2 separate regions of the Homo sapiens genome follow, and region 2 is linked to region 1. The links are contacts of gene promoters, found by promoter capture Hi-C in human tissues and cell types (Jung and others, 2019). All regions are on one chromosome and are shown on one strand. Each heading gives the region's core, a stretch centred on a gene start or on the middle of the fragment in contact. The rest is flanking DNA. Distances are from core to core; before and after follow the strand shown.

Region 1 (4,674 bases), core at 914-3,413:
GGATACAGAAAACCTAATGCCCAAGTTCAGCCTCTGGCATCAGGCCAGAAATAGGAGCCTCCAGGTGCATAAAGCACTAAAACCAAAATGCAATGGGCTGACCTAGTACGTCTTGATTTCAGGAAGGAGACCTTCAAAAAAGAAATAGGGCAGGCCGGGTGCAGTGGCTCACGCCTGTAATCCCAGCACTTTGGGAGGCAGAGGCGGCGGGATCACTTGAGGTCAGGAGTTCGAGACCAGCCTGACCAACATAGTGAAACCCCATCTTTACTAAAAATACAAAAATTGGCCAGACAAGCCAGGCATGGTGGCTCACGCCTGTAATCTCAGCATTTTGGGAAGCTGAGGCAGGTGGATCGCTTGAGGAGTTCTCCTTGGTCTTGAGGAGTTCAAGACCAGCCTGGCCAACACAGTGAATCCAGAGTTTGAGACCAGCCTGGCCAACATAGTGAAACCCCGTCTCTACTAAAATGCAAAAAACTAGCTGGGTGTTGTGGCGGGCGCCTGTAATCCCAGCTACTCGGGAGGCTGAGGCAGGAGAATCGCTTGAACCGGGGAGGCGGAAGTTGCAGTGGACAGAGATCGCGCCATTGCACTCCAGCCTGGGCAACAAGGGCTGGAGTGCACTCTAAAAACAAACAAACAAACAAACAAAATTAGCCAGGTGGCCTGCACCTGTAATCCCAGCTACGAGGCGGGAGAATCGCTTGAACCCGGGAGGTGGAGGTTGCAGTGAGCCGAAATCGCACCACTGCACGTCAGCATGGACGACAAAGCAAAACTCCGTCTCAAAAAAAAAAAAAAAAAAAAAAAAAGAAAGAAAGAAATAGGGCAAATAGTGCAAGCAACAGAGAAAGCTGGCTGGTCTGAGCTTCGGGCATCACACTTACATACACGCACAGACTAATACTCAAACAGGCTTGACACACACATGTCCAGGCTTACACACATGGCTGTCACGTGGTCACACCCCGTTCTGCCTCAACCTTGACCCAGTCTTGAAACAGAAATAAAGGGAGCAACTACTGAGCATCCTGGGGGTGGGAAGGGCGGAAGCCCATCTTTTCACCCCTAGGACGGCTGGGCTGGGAAGCTAAGGGCGCTCAGTCGTGCCCACGCAGCCTTGCCAGGGGCAGGAGCTCCATTTCCCCTGGTCTGCAAAATGGAAGGGCTGGACTGCACCGCCCTGTCAGTGTCGGTCTCTGGTTTCATGGGTCCCTGTGGTTCCACAGGGTCACACTCCGCATCCGACCCCTTGGAGAACTCCCAACCCGAGAGGGAGGGTGATGGAAATGCCCTGAGCATCAGGACCCGCGCCGAGGCAGCCTGAGGGGAAGCGCCGGCCTGCCTCGTCTCACTTCGCCTCTGTAAAGCGGCCCCTGGGCTTCCCTCCAAAACTCCTTTCCTCCAGGGTCTCCGTTCCTCCCCGCGACGCTAGGCGCTGCGCTTCGTTTCACAGACTCACTTCCCACGCCAGGGCGAGGGCGGTCACAGACAAACCCGAGCTGGGGTCCCAGACTCAAGGGAAGTGCGGCCCAGCTGCCCCGGCGCCCCCTCCCGGGTCAGGCCGGCTCGGGCCCGGCCGGCTTGGGCCCTGCGGTCCCAGACGCCGCTCCCCAGGCCACCCCTCCTCCCGCACAACCCAGAACACGCGGGTCACGGCCGCCAGGCTGCGCCCGCTCTGCTCGCGCCTCAGCGGCGCGGAGGCCCGGACGGCGCCATGACATGAGCAGTGGTGGCGACCCACGCGCACCCGCCGCTCCGAGTGCTGCAGCCTAGCGCCCAGCGAGAGCGCGCCGCGCACCTGCCGGCTCTGCCGGCCTCCCGGCGCCCGCCCAGCCTCTCAGCGCGAAGGCCCAGCCCGGCCCACGGCGCCCGCCCGGCCCGGCCGCGCGCCTCACCAGCGGTAGCAGCCCTCCGAGGCCTCCAGCGTGAAGTTAACGCGCGTGGCCCGCGTGAAGGGCAGCAGCACTTTGGGGATGTTGAGCTTGGCCGCAGCGGCGGAGGGGCCCGCCGCCAACAGCACCGACAGCGTCAGCAGCAGCAGCCCCCGGCCCCGCGCCGCCATCCTCGCCGCGCGTCACCTCCCGCGACCCTGCGCCCGGCCGCCCGCGCCGCCCCGTTGCCCTCCGCTCCCGCCCGCGCGCGCGCCAGGCCAGCAGGTGATGAGCGCGGGGGCGGGGCGAGGGCCGTCGGCGGCCGCCGCTTCCTGGGCCTGAGCGCGGGAACTCTGGGGGCCGAGCTCGCGGCGACCCCACCCCCAGCCCGGCCCTCGCGCAGGGACGCGGGGCTGGGGGATGGGCGCGCGCCCGGGCCCCCGGAGCTGAGGGAGAAGGCTTGGGGCGCGCCCGCGGGGACCCCTGGACCCTAGAAGTCCCAAGGGGGAGCCCCCGGGGCGCCCCGCAGCACGCATCCCGCCCTGGTATTTGCCCCTGGCGGTGGAGCCAAGCCGCCGGCTTTGGACCTTGCGCTCTGGCCCGGACCCACGGTCAGCAAGGAAGGGACACATGCCCCAGGACATTTGGGATGCAGAAAACCGGCGCCTGCCTTGTCCCAGCCCATGCTTCCCAGAAGAGGGACCCCGGGCTCGCAAAGGGAAGCCACCTGCTGAAGCGCTGAAGGCCCGGGGCCCGCTCCCCCTCGACCCCCTCACACCCTTTCCAGAGAGGCCTTAAGATTCCCATTTCTCCAGGAAAAAACCGGTTGAATGGCCCCCAGATCACTCAGCCAGAGAGCCCCAAGCTCTTGTCCTCCGCACTGCACCCCCTGCGGAAGCCATTAGAGGTTACCTATAGGTCATTTAGGGCGCCAACGCTGCCAGAGCACAACCCCCTCCACGGCCCCCACACCCACAAAAGAAAGTTTAGCACCGCGGAATCCACCTGCACACCAATGGAAGGCCTTAGATTCCGCGCTGTGCTCTGTGGCTTTTAGCTGTCTGTCGTGAATTGCATGAAGGCATGCGTCAGCAGGCACCTGACTGCTTGGTGCCGCTAAAATATGAATCTAGCCTTGCAGAGAAGGCCCAGCCTAGCGGGAGGTCAGGAAAGGGTGGGGTGAGGGTGCACTGGCCGGCTGTCTGAGGAGTGCAGGAAGTGGATGCTGACTGTAACCAGGAAGACACACAACGATGCCACTGGGTGACCAGGAAGGAGAGGATAAATGTCAGTAAGGCTAGGAAGGCTTTTTGGAGGCGGCGGCCCCTGGGTTGGGCATAGACACCGCACTGGGCTTCAGCGAGGCCCGCATAGGCTGAGCCTGCCCCTCAGGGATCATGGGGCTTTTGGATGGTGATGCGGGGTGTTTGGGGTCACCCTCGAAGCCTGAGGGCCCTAGACCAGGGAATGTGTGTGTTGGGGGAAATCTCTGGAGATAACCAGAACTAAGGGGGTGAGGGTCGGCCCTGTGTGGAACCAGGTGCTCTGGGAGGGGAATTCCAACGGGCTCCCTTTGAAGAAACAAAAAACAGACTTGCGCGGAAAAGGCAGCCTCAGAGGGTATTTGTGAGGAAGTCTGTGGGTGTCTTCTGGGTTGCACAAGATTGATTTGTTTTCCAACAGGTAATCCAGACAGATGGTTGAAACTTAGGCTCAAAAGGGTTCCAAGTGAAAGTGATTCCTCTCCCTCCCCATCACCCAATACCCTTCCCTACAGGCAATGAGTGTTTCCCACTTGAGTATACATCCAGAGAAATTTTATGCATAAACAAGCATATATATATATAAAACATGGCACACATGCACACACATACACATACATGCACACACATATGTATATATGAAATATGGCACATATACATACATATACATATGTCTTGCGAGGCAGGTAAATCTCACTCTTGGACATATATCCTAGAGAAATGAAAAGTGATGTTCCCACAATCACCTGTACATAAAACATTCATAGCAGCTTTATCAAATAGGCCCAAACTGGAAACAGCACAGAGGTCCTTCATGGGTGATGATTAAATACTGTGGCACATCTATGCCATGGAATATTATTCAGCAAAAAAAGAAATGAACTGCTAATACATCCATCTTGGATGAAGCTCCAGGGAATTATACGGACTGGAAAACAAACACTACAAAAGCACAAAAGGTTACATACTGTAAACTTGCTTTTATACAAGATTATTGAGTTGGCAAAATTATAGAAGTATAGAGCAGGTGAGTGATTGTGGGGTCAGGGGCGGCGTGGCATAGGAAGTGATGTGGCTATAAAAGGTCAACATGAGGAGTCCCTGGGATGGAAGTGCTTGGTGGCTTGACTGTATCAATGTCCATTTCCTGGTTGTGATATTATCCCATAGTTTTGCAAGATGTCTACTAGTGGAAACGGGGTAAAGGGCACATATTATAGCATCTCTCTTGTTATTTGTTACAACTGCATGTAATCTACAATTATCTCAAAAAAAGAATCATACAAACAGGCCCAGCAAAACACATCTGAGTGGACACAGCTTGCTAAACAACTACGTTTCAGGTGATTTAAGGCAATCAGGAAATTTTCCCAGCAGAAAACAATCCATGGAAGACAACAAAATGGGCCGGGTGCGGTGGCTGTCACCTGTAATCCCAGCACTTTGGGAGGCCAAGGTGGGCAGATCACCTGAGGTCAGGAGTTTGAGACCAGCCTGGCCAACATGGCAAAACCCTATCTCTACTAAAAATACAA
Region 2 (4,548 bases), core at 474-2,973, 380 kb before region 1:
GCAGCATGCAGCCTCCACAGCTGGATCCCCTGGTTAAATCCCAGTGGCACCACCGACTGGCCATGAGCCCTTGGACAAGCTACTTCTCCCCGTGCTTTGGTTTCTTCACCTGGAAAATGGAAGAATCATGACTCCACTTCGTGGCATTAGCGCGCAGAGTTGGTGCTCAGAATGAAGCCTCACATGTAGCAGACACTCACTGAGCTTCCCTGCCCCACCTTCCTTTCTAGCTCTTCCCCTGACACACACCTAGGCTTCAGCCTCACCTCTGATCATTTATGCACCATGTGAGGCTTGGTCCCACACCATACGTTTGTTCGTGCTTTGTTTTCCACCCACAGTGCCCTTCCCTGTCTGGAAAATTCCAACTCCCATGTCTAGGCCCGGATCAGATGCCACCTCCTGCAGGAAGCCTTCCAATAAGACCTCCCTCAGGCTGCTGGTAATTTGTGCACCCTCTGTTTATACCCCATTCTTAACATTCATGAGTTGTTAATAGGTCTTTTCCCTTTGTAGGTTGGGAGTTCCTCAAGGATTAGTCTCATTTGTCTTTCAGGCACAGTCAGGGCTTAAGAACAAGAGCACAGGCTCTGAGTAAGAACCTCCATAGGTCAGGGGAGGGGACAAAGAGCGCTCTCACGGGTTCCTCCTAGAGCCTGAGCCACGCCTCTCACACTTGGACCACGTGGCCCCCAGAGTGTGACTCTCAGTTTGCCACTTGCCCACTAAGATCCTTCATGGGCTCCCCACTGAATGCAGGACAAGGCCCAGGCTCCGGTCCTGAGCCCCAGCCCCTGGTACCCCTTCCCAGCTCCATGGCCTTTTGCCATGACCCAAAGACACCCTTCCCTTTTAAAGCCTCTGGGTTTTTCCCATGTGGTTTCCCCTCTGTCTGGAACACCTGTGCTCCCCATCTCAACCCAGCAAACTCCTCCAGACACTTTACCACCTGGCTCAGCTGTCACCTCCTCCATGAAGCCCCCGCACCCAGCCCTGCTCCTCTTTCAAGACTCTGACCGCGACTCATGCCTGGCTAGCTGAGCCCTGTGGAGCAGGGTCTGTCCCTCATTTGTCCCTGCCTGGCCCAGGACTCCGGCGTCTGCATGGACTGAGACTGTAGACATTCAAGAGAGATTGCATCTCGAGACAGGAAAGACAGGGGTCAGATCTCGTGGCCACTCTTCTGCAGTTGCCTGCCCTCTGGTTTTATTCTGCTCACCTGCGCACAGGGGCTTTAATGCTTCTTTTGCAGGAGGGATGAGGATGAACAATTAAGTATATAAAGTGCCCCACCGCGGTAGACACCGAATCACTGACAGCCGGACATGCCCTCCTGAGGCCGCATGAACAAGCCTGGGGGCGGGGGGTGGGGTGAAAGGCTGCACCACAGCGCTCAGGGCCCACTGGGTGTCGGGCTCCTCTCTGATGTGGCTTGCACTAATCAGACGCAGGACAGGCCTCTCTCGCTGGCACCCTCCCAAGAGCAGGGACTTCCTTTCTACAGCTGCCGTGAGACCCTCCGTGCCCGCCCCCTTTGGAGAAAGCCCACTGGAAGGAAGAAGAAAAGCTCCCACACTTTCCCAGAATTGCTCGTATGCTAATGGCCGCAGACTTCACAGAGTGTGAAATCAGGAAAAACTAATTCCCTCAGAATAGACGGGACAATTCCCTCCTCCAGGTCTTTAATAACACGCCGTTCAAGGTGACCATGGCGACGGCTCCATGATGATCTCCTGCTGGCCCGGATGTGGTTCTTTCTTGACCAAGGTGTGCACTGGACAGAACACACACGCTCGGAAGAACCTGCCGGAGGTATGAACATTCGGGCTTGTGGTGCCTGCAGCCCCTGTCACCTCAGGGAGCAGTCCCCAAATCCATGTCATCAAATCCGAATCCCTACAGTTGGGAAACAGGCTTAAAGAGGGAAAGTGACTCGCCCAAGATCGCGCAGCCAGGAAAGGGACTGAACTTCGGGCTCCTGATCTCCTGACCAGGGGACCCCCAACTCTGCCTCCCCAAACTTGTGCTTAGGGAGGAGGCAGGCCAACCCTTGAGTCATCCAGCCCACGAGGTCGGAGCAAGTGTACCGGGAAAGAGCAGGCCGGGGACCCCGGGCCGGTGCAGCTTCCCTGCCTAGGGCTCACCCCGGCAGCAAGGAACAATGAAACACAGTGCCTGGCCACAGAGCAGTCCAGGGTGACTCTTTCTCTGCAGAAACTCTACCAGTTTCAGGCCAGAGGGAGAGGAAAGAATAGTTAAGCCCAGTTGCAAAGTGAACCACGACAAACGCTGCTGCTGGTCTTGGCCAGTGACGGGGACCCTCCGCCAAGAGGAGGAAGCCCTGCAATCGGGCAGGATCAGGGCGAACTTTCTCTCCAGGTCCCATTGCCCTAGTGGCCAAGGCTCTCCCCAGAGGGTCGACTTACCTTTTGTAGGCTCCATGCAGGGGCTGTAGGCACAGGAACTGCCAGTAATCCAGGCAAAAGGCCTTGAACTTGAGCATTTTCACCTTTTGGTCTCCAGCTGGACCACGGTAACGTCTCCGCGGAGACACGGAGAGGGGCTAGTGGGAGGTGGAGAACCGGCTGCTTCGGCCCGCCCTGGTCCCTGCCACGGCGGCCCCCACTCACATGGCCCAGCCCGCCCGGCGCAGCTTGTACAGTACACGCCTCCAATACAAAGAGCAGCCAGCACAAAAGCCTAGCAACTCATTCACGCAGCTCGCCTGGCCCGGCTCATGCTGCTGCTGTCTCTGTTAGCTGGTGCCTCCGAGGGCTTCCCTGGGGGTCCCTGGGACACACCAAGGCAGCTCTGGCTGTATCAAGTTGTGGGGGCCCCCAGTCCATCATCCTGGGGGGTCTGGATGCTAGGGCTCCTGACGGTGGCTCTGCAAGTCTGTTCTTCCAACCAGGCCCTGGGGCTCCGGGTGGTGGGGCCGGCACTGGCTGGACAGTCCTACACCCGCCTGGCTGGCCCAGAGTGGCTGAGGCCAGGAAGACCCAGGGAGAGCAGGTAGGGAGGGGGCCAGATGACAGGCAAACACTGGCCTCTTTTGCCAGATAAATTACGTTTGGCGGAATCCCTGTTCGGCCTGTGCGAGGGAAAACTCACCATGTAGCCACATGGTGCTTGGGGTGGGGGCAGCTGGGCTCTGAAAGGCAGGCGAAGGAAGACTGACAGGGTCGCCCAGCGCCTGCCGTTGCCTGGGCGACGGGGACACATTGATAAAATCTAAAATGGAACCGCTATGACAGCCGCTCATTGGCTGCCGGCAGGGGAATCCTGTCGCTAACCAGGGAGGGGAGCGGCTGAGCTGCAGGGCCACAGACAACCAGGCGCATTGTTGGGCAGAGGGACCCCAGGCAGAATGGGTGGCCCCACAGGCCAGGGGACCTGGCAGTCACAGACAATAGGAAAGGAGTCCCTGGCCCACCCTCACCTCTCCCCTTGTATCTCCTGGGATCTGGCTGGTCCCGGCGTCTGCTCCAACCCTCCCATGGCCCATTTCCCACACACTAGCCACCTGAAAGTCTGAGGCTCTGGGTCCCAGATACAGTAGCCACCCTCACCCCCATGAATCCGGCACACCCTTTGGTTCCATGCAGTCTGCTCTCGGGTGCACTTCCTGCAGCTCCGCTCCTCCTCGTCAGTCAGGTCCCACTCCAGCACCCCTCGTGTCTAAGCTATAGCAGCTCAGCCCCCTTCAGCCACTACCCTGTCTGATTCTTTCCATGGGACATCCCATCCTCTGAAAGGATCCTGCTTTTGCATGTTTACTTGTTAACTGTCTTTCTCCTGACTACAAGCAACGACTCCAGGGCAGGGGCCACATCTCTTTTAAGGGCCGGCCCACTGGAGGAGCCTCGATAATCATTTGTGGAAGGAAGGAAGGATCTTGTATAGTGTGTGAAAGGCTCTCAGAGGCACCACACTCACCCCCTCTGGCCGCTTTGGGGCCCAGGTTTGCACAACCCGACATCGTTTGCAAAGCAGTGGTCACACTCCATTCAGACGAGGAGGTCTTGCTACCTCCCCACTCCCCCTCAGATGAGGAAACAGAGGCACAGAGAAGACCCCATCCCCAGAGGTGTGCACACAGAGTCCAGGAGCTGCTGCTCAGGGGGGTGACATCCAGGCGGTCGGATGGGAGCTGGTGCCACAAAAAAGACAAGGCTCTGTGTGCCTCTAGCAAGGCTGCTCAGCTTCCAAGGGCCAGGCTGGGAACCAGAGGCCTGATCTCACCCCATGCAAAGCCAAAGAACAAAGTCTCCCACCTCAGGTGGCATTTTCTCAGTGTCATTAGCAAAAATGCTGCTTCTAGAGCAATGGTTCTCAACCAGAGGCGTCTGGGTCATCCCCCCACCCCCAGGGACATCTGGTAATATCTGGAGAAATTTTGGTTGTCACAAATGGGGAGAGAGTGCCAGCATCCAGTGGCATTTAGATGTCACTAAACACCTTACCATGCACAGGACAGCCCCCACACCAGAGAATGGTCCTGCCCAAAATGTCAGTAGTGCCAAGGTTGGGAGACCCTGTCTGTAGTCA

The links. Contacts are between HindIII fragments. The study calls those that stand out against the background at their distance.
Region 2: a contact is called between a fragment that was not itself captured here and the fragment with the promoter of NUP210 in region 1, in 1 of the 25 tissues and cell types used here (spleen).

Annotation. Positions count from the first base shown.
Region 1 is chr3:13,418,159-13,422,832 of GRCh38, forward strand. It overlaps NUP210 (nucleoporin 210), which reads right to left and starts at 2,164. Exons shown (of 40, transcript NM_024923.4): 1 at 1,902-2,164. The coding sequence starts at 2,068. RefSeq lists silencers at 1,379-1,948, 1,999-2,398. The HindIII fragment of the contact is 28,440 bases long and covers 1-4,674 here.
Region 2 is chr3:13,039,861-13,044,408 of GRCh38, forward strand. All of the region lies in intron 1 of IQSEC1 (IQ motif and Sec7 domain ArfGEF 1), which reads right to left. Among named protein-coding and RNA genes, the nearest start is that of IQSEC1, 31 kb to the right of the region's middle. RefSeq lists enhancers at 873-962, 983-1,042, 1,883-2,478. The HindIII fragment of the contact is 6,139 bases long and covers 1-4,548 here.